Regions from separate parts of the Homo sapiens genome. Here region 1 is linked to region 2. Evidence: promoter capture Hi-C in 16 types of primary human blood cells and fetal thymus (Javierre and others, 2016). All regions are on one chromosome and are shown on one strand. Each heading gives the region's core, a stretch centred on a gene start or on the middle of the fragment in contact. The rest is flanking DNA. Distances are from core to core; before and after follow the strand shown.

The links. The method cuts DNA at HindIII sites, captures the fragments that hold promoters and counts their contacts. A CHiCAGO score of 5 or more calls a contact.
Region 1: a contact is called between a fragment that was not itself captured here and the fragment with the promoter of CNIH4 in region 2, in 4 of 17 cell types (naive B cells, total B cells, monocytes and 1 more). The highest score is 7.2, in naive B cells.

What each region holds. Positions count from the first base shown.
Region 1 is chr1:223,831,771-223,838,357 of GRCh38, reverse strand. The region is part of intron 1 of TP53BP2 (tumor protein p53 binding protein 2); the gene reads left to right. Among named protein-coding and RNA genes, the nearest start is that of TP53BP2, 11 kb to the left of the region's middle. The HindIII fragment of the contact is 3,367 bases long and covers 1,158-4,524 here.
Region 2 is chr1:224,351,525-224,358,470 of GRCh38, reverse strand. CNIH4 (cornichon family member 4) reads right to left here and starts at 1,592. Exons shown (of 5, transcript NM_014184.4): 1 at 1,478-1,592. The coding sequence starts at 1,546. RefSeq lists enhancers at 742-1,242, 1,800-1,939 and a silencer at 1,150-1,519. The HindIII fragment of the contact is 2,727 bases long and covers 1-2,725 here.

The DNA.
Region 1 (6,587 bases), core at 1,592-4,091, 520 kb after region 2:
CTCCCTCATTAACCATTTAATTGTTTTTGGATGGCCTTTTGGGGATAACATCTGCTCAACAAATATTTAGTTAACATCTTCTGTATTCCAGGCACTGTTGTAAATGCCATGGAGACAGGAAAGGAAGTTTTCAGGGAGCTTAGCTTTCTTTCATAGTGCTTAATGGGAGATTTGGGTGGGAGAGAGAGAAAATAAACAAAAAAGAAAAACATGAGAGTTAAATGGGATTTAAGAAGGGTAATGTGACTGCGATGGCTACTTTAGATTGGATGGTCAGGAAGTGACATTTCAGCTGAGACCTGAATGACAAGAAGGAGCTGGTCCTGTGAAGATTTGCAGGTGGAGCATTTCAAGTGGGCACGATTCCTAGGGACTGGTGCAGAGGCCGGGAGGAAGCACTGGAGGCTGGGGCAAGGGGAGAGGGGCGGCGGGGGCGGGGCAGGGCTTCGTGGGCAGAGGGCAGAGTGACAAGAGCCGAAGCAAAAGACCTGTCAGCATATAGGTTTTCGCGGGCCAGAGGGAAGGGTGGAGGTGGCATGGGAAGGGACGTGGGAGCCACAGAAGAGGTTTAGTTAGCAAAAGTGACAACCTGATTGATTAGGAAAGCTCACTCTGTTGCTGTGTGGACAGTGGACCTTAGAGGTGCCAGAGTGTAAGACTTGGGCAAGGTGGGAAGAGTAGGAAAGTCTACAGAAAGCTGCCAAAAATAAATTAAAGGGTTTTAATTTTATTTATTTTTTATTTTTTACCACACCTAAGGCCCAGCTGACAGAATTGGTTGTGAAGGCACTCAAGAGTTTGTCACTTGCTCTAATAAATTGTTTTAGTGACCCTCAGAAGCCCCAGGGGTGAGAGGAGAAACAGTAGCACTTACCCGGGGTTGGAAGTAAGACCAGACAGGAATGGTGGAAGATCACTCCTGTATCCACAAGCTCCTTCCTATGGGGCTAAAGAGAAACCATACTTTTTATATCACCACAGAGCTCTGACAGCTACACAGAGCAGTTTAAATTTAGGCTTGAGAAAAAGCCTTCTGTCACCATGTTTCTTTTCAACTGAGTAGGGTGTATCAGGTTTCTCAAGGAAGCCATAGTCTGTCTTAAAATGCTTTAGGACAGCTTTACTTTTGACCACATGACCAGAGTGCTCTGGAAGCTTCTGATGCTTCAACCTAAAAGTTCCTTGACCCCCCGCCCCCCCCCTTTTTTTTTTAATTTTAAAACAATAGTATCTTCATTTTCCTGACACAAAGTAGCGAGTGACCTAGGAAAATCAAGTCTGAGTTAACTTTAATTCTAGAACGGTCTCTTTGTGGCAGTGTTTTCTGCATCACAACAAAATCTAGATAATAACTGCTTAGTTTGTGATATGTAGGTAATTTTCAAAAATTTTGTTAATTTCCTGAAAAGTTTGGGGGGTATCTATTTTGGATAATGCATTTATTTTAAAGGTAGATAGGATCTTTCTCTGGTAGGTTTTGCTTGTTGCTTTTAGTAGCCACGGACCTGGGCTTTCATCCTGCTGCTTTTCCTCTCTTCTGTCTTCTCCTGGAGCTGTTGAGTCACCAGGGCACACAGATCCCTCTTCTCCATTTCCTGGGGCACCTGTTTGGCCTCACCCCTCTCCTGCCTGGACTGTTGTAATGCTCTCCTTATCTATTTTCTTACCTTTTCTGTTCTCTGCCCCATCAGGCCATTTAACACACTGCTTCCCTGGTGGTCTTTCTGAAACAGCAATGTGTCTCTTCCCTCTCCAGAATTCTTCAAGTCTGACCTCTGTTCCTTACAGCATAAAATATATAAACTCTTTAGTGAGATAGAAAGTTTCTTTATTGTGTAGCCCAGTGGATTTCAGCCTTTTTGTGTCATTGATACATTTCCATTTCAGAATTTTTAGCTGCATAATGGAAATGATTGAAAAACTCAAAACACCAAGTCAGTTATTAAAACATAGCACCAGCTATGGCACAGTAGTGGGAATGCCTTGTGCTGTGCAGAAGAGCATCCGGTCACCTCGTGGTTCATTCGGCCTTCCTTCGGAATTGTGTTTCCTCTTGCTCACAGCAAGTTGTACTCTGTTGCATATTGCTCTCCACTCTTGCATATTGCCCTCCATGACGTGCTCCGCTCCATCGGACTTTGCCATAACAGCATGTGTATAAAACAAATTTTGTGCATTGAAAGTTTTTGCAGCACATTCGTGGCTTGTGGGTTGGGAATTGACCCATCTCTTCTTTGTCCTGCCTTGCGTCCCACCTCTGTGCTTCAACAGTTCCAGGACTATAGTTGTGAGGGCATGCCACAGTTTCCTGTGTCTTTATACACAGTGTTTCTCTCCCTAGATGGTCCTCTTCCTGCTTGTCTTATTCATCCTACAGTTTTAGCTTAATAGTACTTCTTTTATGTTAAGCCTTCTTCCACTGCTTGGAGGGGATTTTTTTTTCTGTTCTCACTGGACTTCAAATGCTTTAAATGTACTTTCACCAGGAAGTTCTCATTTCTCAACATTGCACCCTTTTCGTGGTTTGCAGTGCTTCTTCATTGTTCCATAAGCTCTGTGAGGACATGGAGCATGCCTTTTCATCTTTGTGTTTCTAGCACTTAGCACAGTGTTTGGCACACTGTAGGGATTTAATAAATATTGTTTGAGTTAATGGATGAATGAATATTCTTATTTTGGATTTTCTTTGGTGAGTGTAGTTCTTGCCTCTACTTCCATAGCAAAGTGGGAGGTAGGAAGGAAATAACTAGAAGCAATGGATCGGTTGTAGTTAGATCATCACGGATAGATCTTAAAAATGTAGTGCTTAGTGAGTAAAAGTAAAAAACAGAATGAAATCTGTAACAGTACCTTTACATAAAATAAGACGAATGCCTGGCAAACAAGACTCAGTTTAGAAGGAAGCACACCAACACTAAACTTATCAATAGTTGGAGCCGGGGAGGAATTAACTAAATGTATTTGTTCTTTTGCTTTATACATTGATTGTTTATGACAGATATTGAAGCAGAGTAACCTAAGATGAGTTGCTTTAGAGGATACGTTCAGAATTTGAAACTTATCTAAATTCAGCTTCAGGCATAGTTGAAAGAAGAGAAAAGGTTTCTTAATTTTACTTAAAGCAGAATTCTTTGAGACATTGTCTGGCTTTGAAAACATTCACTGTGAAGTAATACCATTTATAGATAAACATTTCTTGATGCTTCAGGATGTGAACATCCTCTTTGTCATGTTCTTGTTGCCTGTTAACTTTCTCCTCTTCGTGGAACTTTGAATCCCTGCGTCACAGTTTCAGTTCAGTCCAACAAACATGTATTGCATATTTGCTTTGTGTGAGATCTGACAGAGTTTTTTGGGGAGTGAGTTATAATGTAGGAGGAGGAAAACCAGGGAGGAGGCATTTAAGAACCAAAACATGTGTACTAAAGAATGTATAGACCAGTAGGACAGATAAGACAGGGATACAGACAACTACAGTGTGAATGGTTGTCAGAGAAGCAAAGAGAACATTTACTTCTGGCTGGAGGTGAGTGTGTGGGTAGGGATGGATGGATTGGAGGAAGTTTTATGGTCTTTGAGTTATTCTGGAAGGATGGGGATGAATTGACACTACAGGACAGAGTAGGAATCAGGTGAGCTACTCTGGGGAGAGAAGTGAGGAAAAGTGGCTATTTTAGATTCCTCATTTGGTGACTCGAGGCTATAACTGTGGAGTAGATAATTTAAAATAAATTTTAGGTCTTAATATTTCTTGTAATTGAAATGGAATTCCCTGAAATTCAAAATATGCAAATATAAATACCAGTGTATATGTGTCATAATGTATTGCTATTGTTGTTGGGTTAACTACTGGTATTATAATTAATATATACTACATAGATTAATACACACTGTTGTTATCTGCTAGTGAAATTAATACTCTACATTATTTGCAGCAAATTACTCAGAAACCTAGTTTCATGTTACTTCCCTGCTCAAAACCCTCTAATGCAGTGGTTCTTAAACTTAAGTGTGAGTACTGGGCCTCTCCTCTGGGGTTTCTGAATCAGGAGATGTGGAGCAGGGCCTGGAACTTTATATTTCTGACAAGTTCCCAGGTGATGCTTATGCTGTTTGTCTGAGAATTGCATGTTGTAAATCACTACTCTAGTGACTTTTCCCTTGCAATAAAGTCCGTACTCCTTATTCTTGACCTACAAGGCCCTGCCTGAGCTACCCCCTGTTCTCCCTGCCCTCATTGGCATAAGTCTGTATTCCTGATGTGGCGTTTTTTTCTGGTCATGGAATAGTCCAAGTTCATTACCACCTCTGGGCCTTTGATGAAATGTCTTCCTTCAGATGTTTCAAGTGGCTGTGGCTTCTTCAGTCTCAGCTCAAAAGTCCCCTTCACCCTGAGGTGTCTTTCCTAATCATGATCAGCCATCCTCCCCTCATCACTTCCATAATTCTTTATCATATCGCTTTATATACCATGCTCATTTGTGTGCTACCAGCCTCTCTTCTCTGCCCTAAAGAAGGCAAGCTTTTTCATCACTGTGTTCCTTTTGCTTTAACTGTCCTTTCTTAATAGGTATTTAGTAAGTACTAACGGGTGAATGAACGAAACTTCTTGTTGAAGTCAGCAAGAAGTTAGGATTGAGGGGAAGGCATAGAACCAGGAGCTTCTTTGGCATGGCTGGCTTTGATAGGATATGACTCCTATAGGTTTCTATGTAGAGGTCCCTGTTACCTATTCATGTATATGAAGTGGTTCTTTTACCAGACATCTATGACCAGCAGGCTACTTTATGATTTTTTCCTTAATTAAAGTAACTACTTCATATTTGCTCTATCATTTTTTTCCAGAATGTTGACTATTTCAGAATATGATTGTGTGCTCCAGATGATATTGAATGGATGGTCAGGATAGTCCATGCCTGATTAACATTTTTAACAGAATATTGTTCAAATTGATATTGAGACTTCACGTTATTGATTTCTGAATTCTACTAACTTGCTGTAAGTGAGCAAAGGAATAGTTTATGAAGTAAAAAAAATCCTTTGAATATGACTTTATGATTTTGCTTTAAATAAACTCAGATGTAACTGATAGGAACTGATGGGTTAATGTTAAAAATATGCCATCATATAAAGTGGTACACTTAGTGTAGAAGTAGGTTTAATATCATTGAGCCTTAATAGAACATCGGTATACATAACTTATGGTAATTGGTGAATATTTTTAAAAGCAGTTTAATGGCTCCAAGAGTAAACTCTAGAGAAACAGCTAAGAAATCATGATAGGCCTTTGTAAGCAGTGATTCTCTGATAACTTTAATAAGGTTGGGACCCATCGTCAGGGAGGTAGAGAGTGTCTCTTTGAGGGAAAGGACTCAAATATGTAGTGTCCCTGTGGCTCCTGAGGAAGGTTCCACAGAGACCCCTGTGGGTTGCCTACTCAGATATTGGGGAGACGAGGAAGGACAGCTCAAGCTCAAGCTGGGGTAGTGGAGCAGCACACTTCTTGCAGAAGACTGGCAGCCTAGCTCACAGCTAGGGTGCAGCATGTCTGAATTAGGGAGCCAAGCTCATGAGTGCCCTTGGTGTGCAGACTCAGCTGGCAGAGTGAGCATTGGAGCAGAGCTCCAGGTCTGTGCAGAGACAGGCAGAGTACTCTTGAGGACTGGAAGGGTCGGCATCTCCTTCCTAAACCCCGCCCAGTGTTAGAAGTCATAGTTGGGCTAAATGGCTGTGTATGAGTTTGAAAGAAACTTTGGTTATATCTTAATTTAATCCCCACTCTGTATCACAGTGTTGGGAGAGGTGTTTTTGCTTGACTGGGTTATAGGAAGCCTAGTGGCATTCTCCTCTTACAAGAAATATTTTCGGGCCTGCCTCCATAAGGGGTACAACAAAATATAGAAACTGAAGTAATAGTTTTACATTTATCTTTCTGCAGAGGAATTGTGAAACACAGAAACCATTCAGATTTTCCCCTAATCTCTCTACAAGCATAATCGCCTGGCTATTCCTGTGGTATTTCTTGTGAGTTGCAAAATTTGGGGAGGATTTGTGTCACTCTTTTTATAGATTGTTCATTTCATAATTTTCTGTTTCTTCCTCTTAGGTAAACTTGAAGGATTTGAGTTTTTGTAAATGAAAACTCTGAAGGTGCTGTTGTAGAGCGTAATTTCCCTTTGGTGACAGGGAACATCTTATACTCTTGGTTCCTTTCTTCTTTCTGTAGAACTTCACATGATTTTCTGAATCAAATGAATAAATGTTAGCCTCTGACTCATCTTGTAAATGCCCTAATCAGTTTTTTTTTTGTATTTCCTCTTAGAAAAGTCTTTCAGATTTTGATCTGAAATAATTCCTCTTTAAAATGAGTCATTCTTATGTTGATAGCATAACATCATAGTTACAGTACATACATGCTCTATAAACACAGGACTCTTAAAATAAATCTATGACCCATTGTTTTTAAATGAAAATTATCTGTGACTTTGAATTTTTGGAAGGGCACATCTTCATCTAGATATGACTGACATGAATTACTATGCAGTGTGCCTGTAGGTGGCCTGGCACAACTTAACACAGTGTTTTTT
Region 2 (6,946 bases), core at 343-2,842:
CTCTAGTTCCTTATATCACAAGAGGGGCATAGAGGTCATCAAAACTTAGGCAAGTGATGCTGCCCTTTCAATCAGCTCCCCAAACCTACTAAAACTCAGAAATCTTGTCGTTAGATATCATCAAAGTAAAAACTGCTGCTCAATTGGGGAGGGTGGGGACACGAAGGCAGAGCAATATTTACTGAACATTAGCTATGGGGCAGGCACTGTGCTAGGGTGCTCAGCACCATTCTCATTGTGCATATCTAGGAAATAAACATTTCCTATTTTAAAGATCAGAAAACTGAGGCTTAGGGAAATAATGTGCAAGCAAAGAGCTAGCTGACCAGGAAATCTGATTCCAAATTTTGTCCCTTTCCACTACAACAGGATGCCAGTCCACAATGAAAAATGAAGCTGCACTGAACATATACTCTGTACGACTATCCTAAAGCCCGCATGCTCTAGCAAACAAATGGTTTAATCCGATCAGAAACAGGTACATGTGATTTCCAAGAAAGGAAGCTGAAATGCGGAGTTCCTCATACGTTTTTTCTTATATTTAATTACTTAAACCTGGATGGTGCAATACAACATTGGGCAACAACTAAGCCTAGATGCTTTGTCAAGAGATGGGAAGAGTTGTAGCCGACATGGCTACTGCAGTGCTAAATTCAACCACCATTTATTGCTCTGGAAAACAGTTTGAATACTGCAACTTAAGTTTTAACATGGATCGATAGAAAAATTTAAAAGCTGAGAAACGATTGGGAACTACAGCAGATGTAGTTATTGAATTTACAGATCTGCAACCACCGGGGACAACCAAAATAATCACTTTGTAGACAGTTGTTAAAACAACTCCTTTCCAACACTCACTACAAAACGGCACAGTGAAGGAAGCAACTTCGCTCCTTTGGCGAATGAGTCAACTCCTGGATGTGAAAGGTCCCTGCAAGTACTAACACCCGCCAGAACAAAGGGGCGGGTGCCGGGGGTGTTGCGTGGGGAACAGGAGGAGGCAAATGGCCCGCACTTATCCCGGCACCCGACTGTCGCAAGCGACCGCCCTTGGGACCCCCAATATCCGACGAAGAGCACGGCGCAGGGCCTCTCCCAGAAAAACAGCGACGCTTCTCTCCCGAGGGCGGCCGTGGCTCAGGCAGGGCTGGTCCGGGCGCCGCGGGGACGAGCGGAGAGCAGGCGGGCAGGCCGAGACGGGGCGCGCCCGGAGAGGCCCACTCGGACCCGAGTGAGGGGCGGCCGGCAACCCAGGCAGGGCAAGTGCGTGCAGGGCAGCAGGGCCCGTCGGGTAGGGCAGCCAGCCTCTCCTACCCGCTCCGGGGCCCGCGCCACCGCCCCGGCCAGGCCAGCTCCCAGGGAGCCCACGCCCGCCGCCGGGCGCCTCCCTAGTCCCACACACCTGCCCGGGTGCCCAACTGGCCCACCCTCAGCCGTGTCCCCCGGCAAGGCGTTCGCCTGCCTCAGGCAAGGATACGAAGTAGACCGAGAGGAAGATGAGCGCGCAACAATCGAGGAGAGAGAAGACGAACACCACCGCCTCCATCCTCCTCCTCCGTCGCCGCCGCTCCTTCCGTCAAACCCGCTCGGATGCCCCGACCCACCCCTGATAGGCCCTTGCCGGGGCTGGCTGAGGCGTGTGGTCCTCGAATCCTGGTGTGGCATGCCGGGAGTTGTAGTCCATATTTTAAAAAACTCTACGGCCCTAATTCTGACGCATGCTGGGAATTGTAGTTCATTAGTACAAGTCCATATCAAAGAGGTGGGCAGGGCCTCTTTCATAAATCCGATTATTTCCAGAAATGGAATTAATCAACAAGTATTTACTCAACGCTTTTCTTTTAAAGAGCTGGGGTCTTGCTCTGTCGTCCAGGCTGGAGTGCAGTGGCGTGATAGAGCTCACTATGACCTCGAATTCCTGGGCTCAAGCAATCCTTCCACCTCAGCCTCCCGACATGCCCAGCTAATTTTATTTTATTATTTCTCATTTTATTTTATTTTTTGAGACAGGGTCTCACTCTGTCGCCCAGGCTGGAGTGCAGTGGCATGGTCACAGCTCACTGCAGCCTCTACCTCCTGGCCTCAGGTGATCCTCCCACCTCCGCCTCCTGAGTACCTGGGATTACAGGAATGTACCACCACGCCTGGCTAATTTTTTGTATTTTTAATAGAGATGGGGTTTTTGCCATGTTGCCCAGGCTGGTCTCGAATTCCTCGGCTCAAGCGATCTGCCTGCCTCAGTCTCCCACAGTGCTGGAATTACAGGCCTGAGCCACTGCACCAGTCTCTACTGAACGCTTTTAATCCGGATATCCAGTAGGATGTATTTCCCATGTGTGAAATTTTCTTTAGAGTTGGCTCTAGAACCATTGCATTCCCTGACTTAGGATTTGTAAGGGGTTTTCATCTCAAAGCACAAATCTAACTTAATGCTCCTGGCTTGACTTTTGCGATTTGCCCTTCCCTTCCTGATTTCAATTTCTCCAGAGATTTCACAGTCCTTTGTTTATCCTCTCCTACAGCAATGTTTCTCTCCTCTCTAGATTTTAAGATCTTTAAGAAGTGAATACGATGTCTTACTCATCCATTCATTCATTTAACAAATACAGTTGTATTTGCAGGGGCTACTTTCCAAGACCCCCAAGTGGATGCCTGACACGATGGATAGTACCAAACCTTATGTGTACTATGTTTTTTCCTATATATACATACCTATGATAAAGCTTAATTTATAGATCAGGCACAGTAGGAGATTAACAAGTAATAATAAGATAGAACAATTATACTGTAATAAAAGTTATGTAAATGTGGTCTTTCTGTCTCAAAATATCTTATTGTACTGACCCTTCTTTTTGAGATGATGTATGATGATAAAATGCCTATGTGATAAGATGAAGAGACAGATGCAGCCTCTCCAGTGATTTTTATATTTTTCAGTCCAAATCTATTCTTACATTCATGTAACTATCCATTACTTGCAGTAAGTGGCTTGGTATCACTCGTTTTAGGGAATCCCTCACTGAAGTCTTTGTATAGGCTCAATACTTTCTGGCTCAACACGTTGCCATCAATTGGCACATGTTTTCTGTTCATGTCTTCCACCCACAAATGTAATGCCTCTTCCATCTTTTTTGTGGTTGTTGTTTTAGTTTTTCTGAGATGAAGTTCACTCTGTCACCCAGGCTGGAGTGCAGTGGCGCCATTTCAGCTCTCTGCAACCTCCACCTCCCAAGTTCAAGCGATTCTCCTGCCTCAGCCTCCGGAGTAGCTGAGATTACAGGTGCATGCCACCACACCCAGATAATTTTTTGTATTTTTAGTAGAGTTGGGGTTTCGCCATGTTGGCCAGGCTGGTCTCAAACTCCTGGCCTCAAGTGATCCACCTACCTTGACCTCCCAAAGTGCTGGGATTACAGGCATGAGCCACTGTGCTGTGCCGCCTTTTCCATCTTAACTAAGCACTTATCAGGCACTGTGGCCATAACTTTTGTAGTCTGAGTTGCAACAGCAAAACTAGCACAAATTCCTTTTTCCTTTTTCAGAAATTCACAGATAAAAGACTGGTTCTTACCATAGATCTTAGCAGTCTCATAGGGTTTTTTTTTCTTTCCTTAAGTCAAGAACTTTGACCATTTCACTTAAAGGGAGCACTTCATGGCTTCTCTTTGGCATATCTGAATTGCCAGTATTCACTGCTCTTGAACTTTGGGCCATTGTTAAGTACAATAATGGGTACTTGAACATAAGCACTGCAATACTGCTGCAGTCAATCTGATAACTGATAAGATGGCTACTACGTGACTAACAGGTAGGTGGCATAGACAGCATGGATATGCTGGACAAGGGGATAGATAATTCATGTCCCAGGCAGGATGAAGTGAGCAGCAGGAGATTTCATTACACTCCTAAGAGTGGCACACAATTTAAAATTCATGGATTGTATATTTCTGAAATTTTCCATTTAACATTTTAGGACTGTGATTGACCTCAGGTAAATGAAACCAGTGAAAGCAAAACTGTGGATGAGACTGCTGTATTTACTGACAACACACCTGCTATAGGCCAAGAACTGCTCTAGACTCCAGAGATATAAAAATAAACAAGGCAAACAAGTTGCTGCTCTAGTAGGGTGAGTGGGAGGAACAGGCAATAAAGTATAACAAAGTATGGGAAAAAGATAACTTCAAGCAGTGATAAGCTCTGTGAGCGGTTGTGTCAAAGTTATTTATTCATTCAACCAATATTTTCTGAGCAGCCAGAATATATGAGCTACTGTTCCAAACCTTGGGAAAAGTCCCCACAAGCCTGTGGTTTACATTACAGTGAGAAAGACAGACGACAAAATAAATATACTAATGACAGGCAGTCATAAGTACTTGGAAGGGGATGGGGAAAGACGGAGTGATCAGAGAAAGCCAAGCTGAGGAAATGACACTTAAGTAGAAATTTGAACAATAGCTATGTGAAGGTCTGCGGGCAGAATGTTTCAGAAAGTAGGAACAATAATTTCAGAGGCCCAGTTGTATATAGAGGCTTGATGTGTTAAAGGAATAGAAAAAAAGACTACTGTGGTCTTGTGGCTAAAGCACAGGGGAAAAGGGTGAGAGAGTGCTGAGAGGAAGAGAAGGAGGCAGGGTAAGGTTATATGGGCCCTGTAGACCCTTGGCAAGGATTTTTATCCTAATATGATGAGAAACCACTGCAGAGTTCTAAGCAAAAAAGTAGCTTAATCTGATTTACATTTTTAAAATCTCATTCTGGCTATTTAGCGCACTGAATGTGTGAAAGGGAAACAAGTTTGTCAGCAGGGAGATCACATGGAGAGTAGAACAGGAGAATTACTATGAAGGCAAAACCAACTGAGCCGGGCGCGGTGATTCACGCCTGTAATCCTAGCACTTTGGGAGGCCGAGGCGGGCGGATCACCTGAGGTCGGGAGTTCGAGACCAGCCTGACCAACACGGAGAAACCCCGTCTCTACTAAAAATACAAAATTAGCCAGGGGTGGTGGTGCATGCCTGTAATCCCAGCTACTTGGGAGGCTGAGGCAGGAGAATCACTTGAACCCAGGAGGTGGAGGTTGCAGTGAGCTGAGATTGCTCCATTGCACTCCAGCCTGGGCAACAAAATGAAACTATGTCTCAAAAAAATAAGCAAACAACAACAACAAAAAACACAAAAACCCAACTGGATTTGCCTGATGCAGTACAGGTTCATAGATTCATAAAGGGTTCACAGGTTAAAGCTAGACATACAATTAACAGATTATCTAATTAATTAAACCAGCTATTACCAAACTCCCATTGTACCTTGTACATATCTCTATCAGAATATTCATTACATACTCAGTTATCTTAAGGTGAAAAAAAATACTCATCAACTATCTTCCTTATGTGCTTAGCCAGTCACACTGAGGGGTGACAGCGTGCTGGCAATCGTCACAGCCCTCACTCGCTCTCGCTCGCTCTCGGCGCCTCCTCTGCCTGGGCTCCCACTTTGGCGCCACTTGAGGAGTCCTTCAGCCCGCCGCTGCACTGTGGGAGCCCCCTTCTGGGCTGGCCAAGGCCGGAGCCGGCTCCCTCAGCTTGCGGGGAGGTGTGGAGGCAGAGGCGCGGGCGGGAACCGGGGCTGCGTGCTGTGCTTGTGGGCCAGCGCGAGTTCTGGGTGGGCGTAGGCTCGTCGGGCCCTGCACTGGGAGCTGCCAGCCGGCCCCGCGGGCCCCGCCGGCCCTGGGCAGTGAGAGGCTTAGCACCTGGGCCAGCAGCTGCTGTGCTCAATTTCTCACCGGGCCTTAGTTGCCTTCCCGCCGGGCAGGGCTCGGGACCTGCGGCCCGCCATGCCTGAGCCTCCCCGACCTCCGTGGGCTCCTGTACGGCCCGAGCCTCCCCGACGAGCGCCGCTCCCTGCTCCACGGCGCCCAGTCCCATCCACCACCCAAGGGCTGAGGAATGCCGGCGCACGGCACGGGACTGGCAGGCAGCTCCACCTGCAGCCCCCGTGGTGAATCCACTGGGTGAAGCCAGCTGGGCTCCTGAGTCTGGTGGGGACGTGGAGAACCTTTATGTCTAGCTAAGGGATTGTAAATACACCAATTGGCACTCTGTATCTAGCTCAAGGTTTGTAAACACACCAATCAGCACCCTGTGTCTAGCTCAGGGTTTGTGAATGCACCAATCGACAATCTGTATGTAGCTACTCTGGTCGGGACTTGGAGAACCTTTATGTCTAGCTCAGGGATTGTAAATACACCAATCGGCACTCTGTATCTAGCTCAAGGTTTGTAAACACACCAATCAGCACCCTGTGTCTAGCTCAGAGTTTGTGAATGCACCAGTCCACCCTCTGTATCTAGCTACTCTGGTGCGGATGTGGAGAACGTTTGTGTCTAGCTCAGGGATTGTAAAGGCACCAATCAGCACCCTGTCAAAACAGACCACTGGGCTCTACCAATCAGCAGGATGTGGGTGGGGCCAGATAAGAGAATAAAAGCAGGCTGCCCCAGCGAGCAGTGGCAACCCACTCGGGTCCACTTCCACAGTGTGGAAGGTTTGTTCTTTTGCTCTTTGCAATAAATCCTGCTGTTTGTCACTCTTTGGGTCCACGCTGCCTTTATGAGCTGTGACAGCGCGAAGGTCTGTAGCTTCACTCCTGAGCCAGTGAGACCACGAACCCACCGGAAGGAGGAAACTCCGAACACATCTGAACATCAGAAGGAACAAATTCCAAATGTGCCACCTTAAGAGCTGTAACACCACGAGGGTCCGTGGCTTCATTCTTAAAGTCAGTGAGACCAAAAACCCACCAATTCTGGACAGAACACGTTTGATCAAGCTTGTTCAGCCCATTGCCCATACGCCACATGTGGTCCAGAACGGCATTGAATGCAATCTACCATAAATTTATAAACTTTATTAAAACGTTATGAAATTGTTTTTGCCATTTTTTT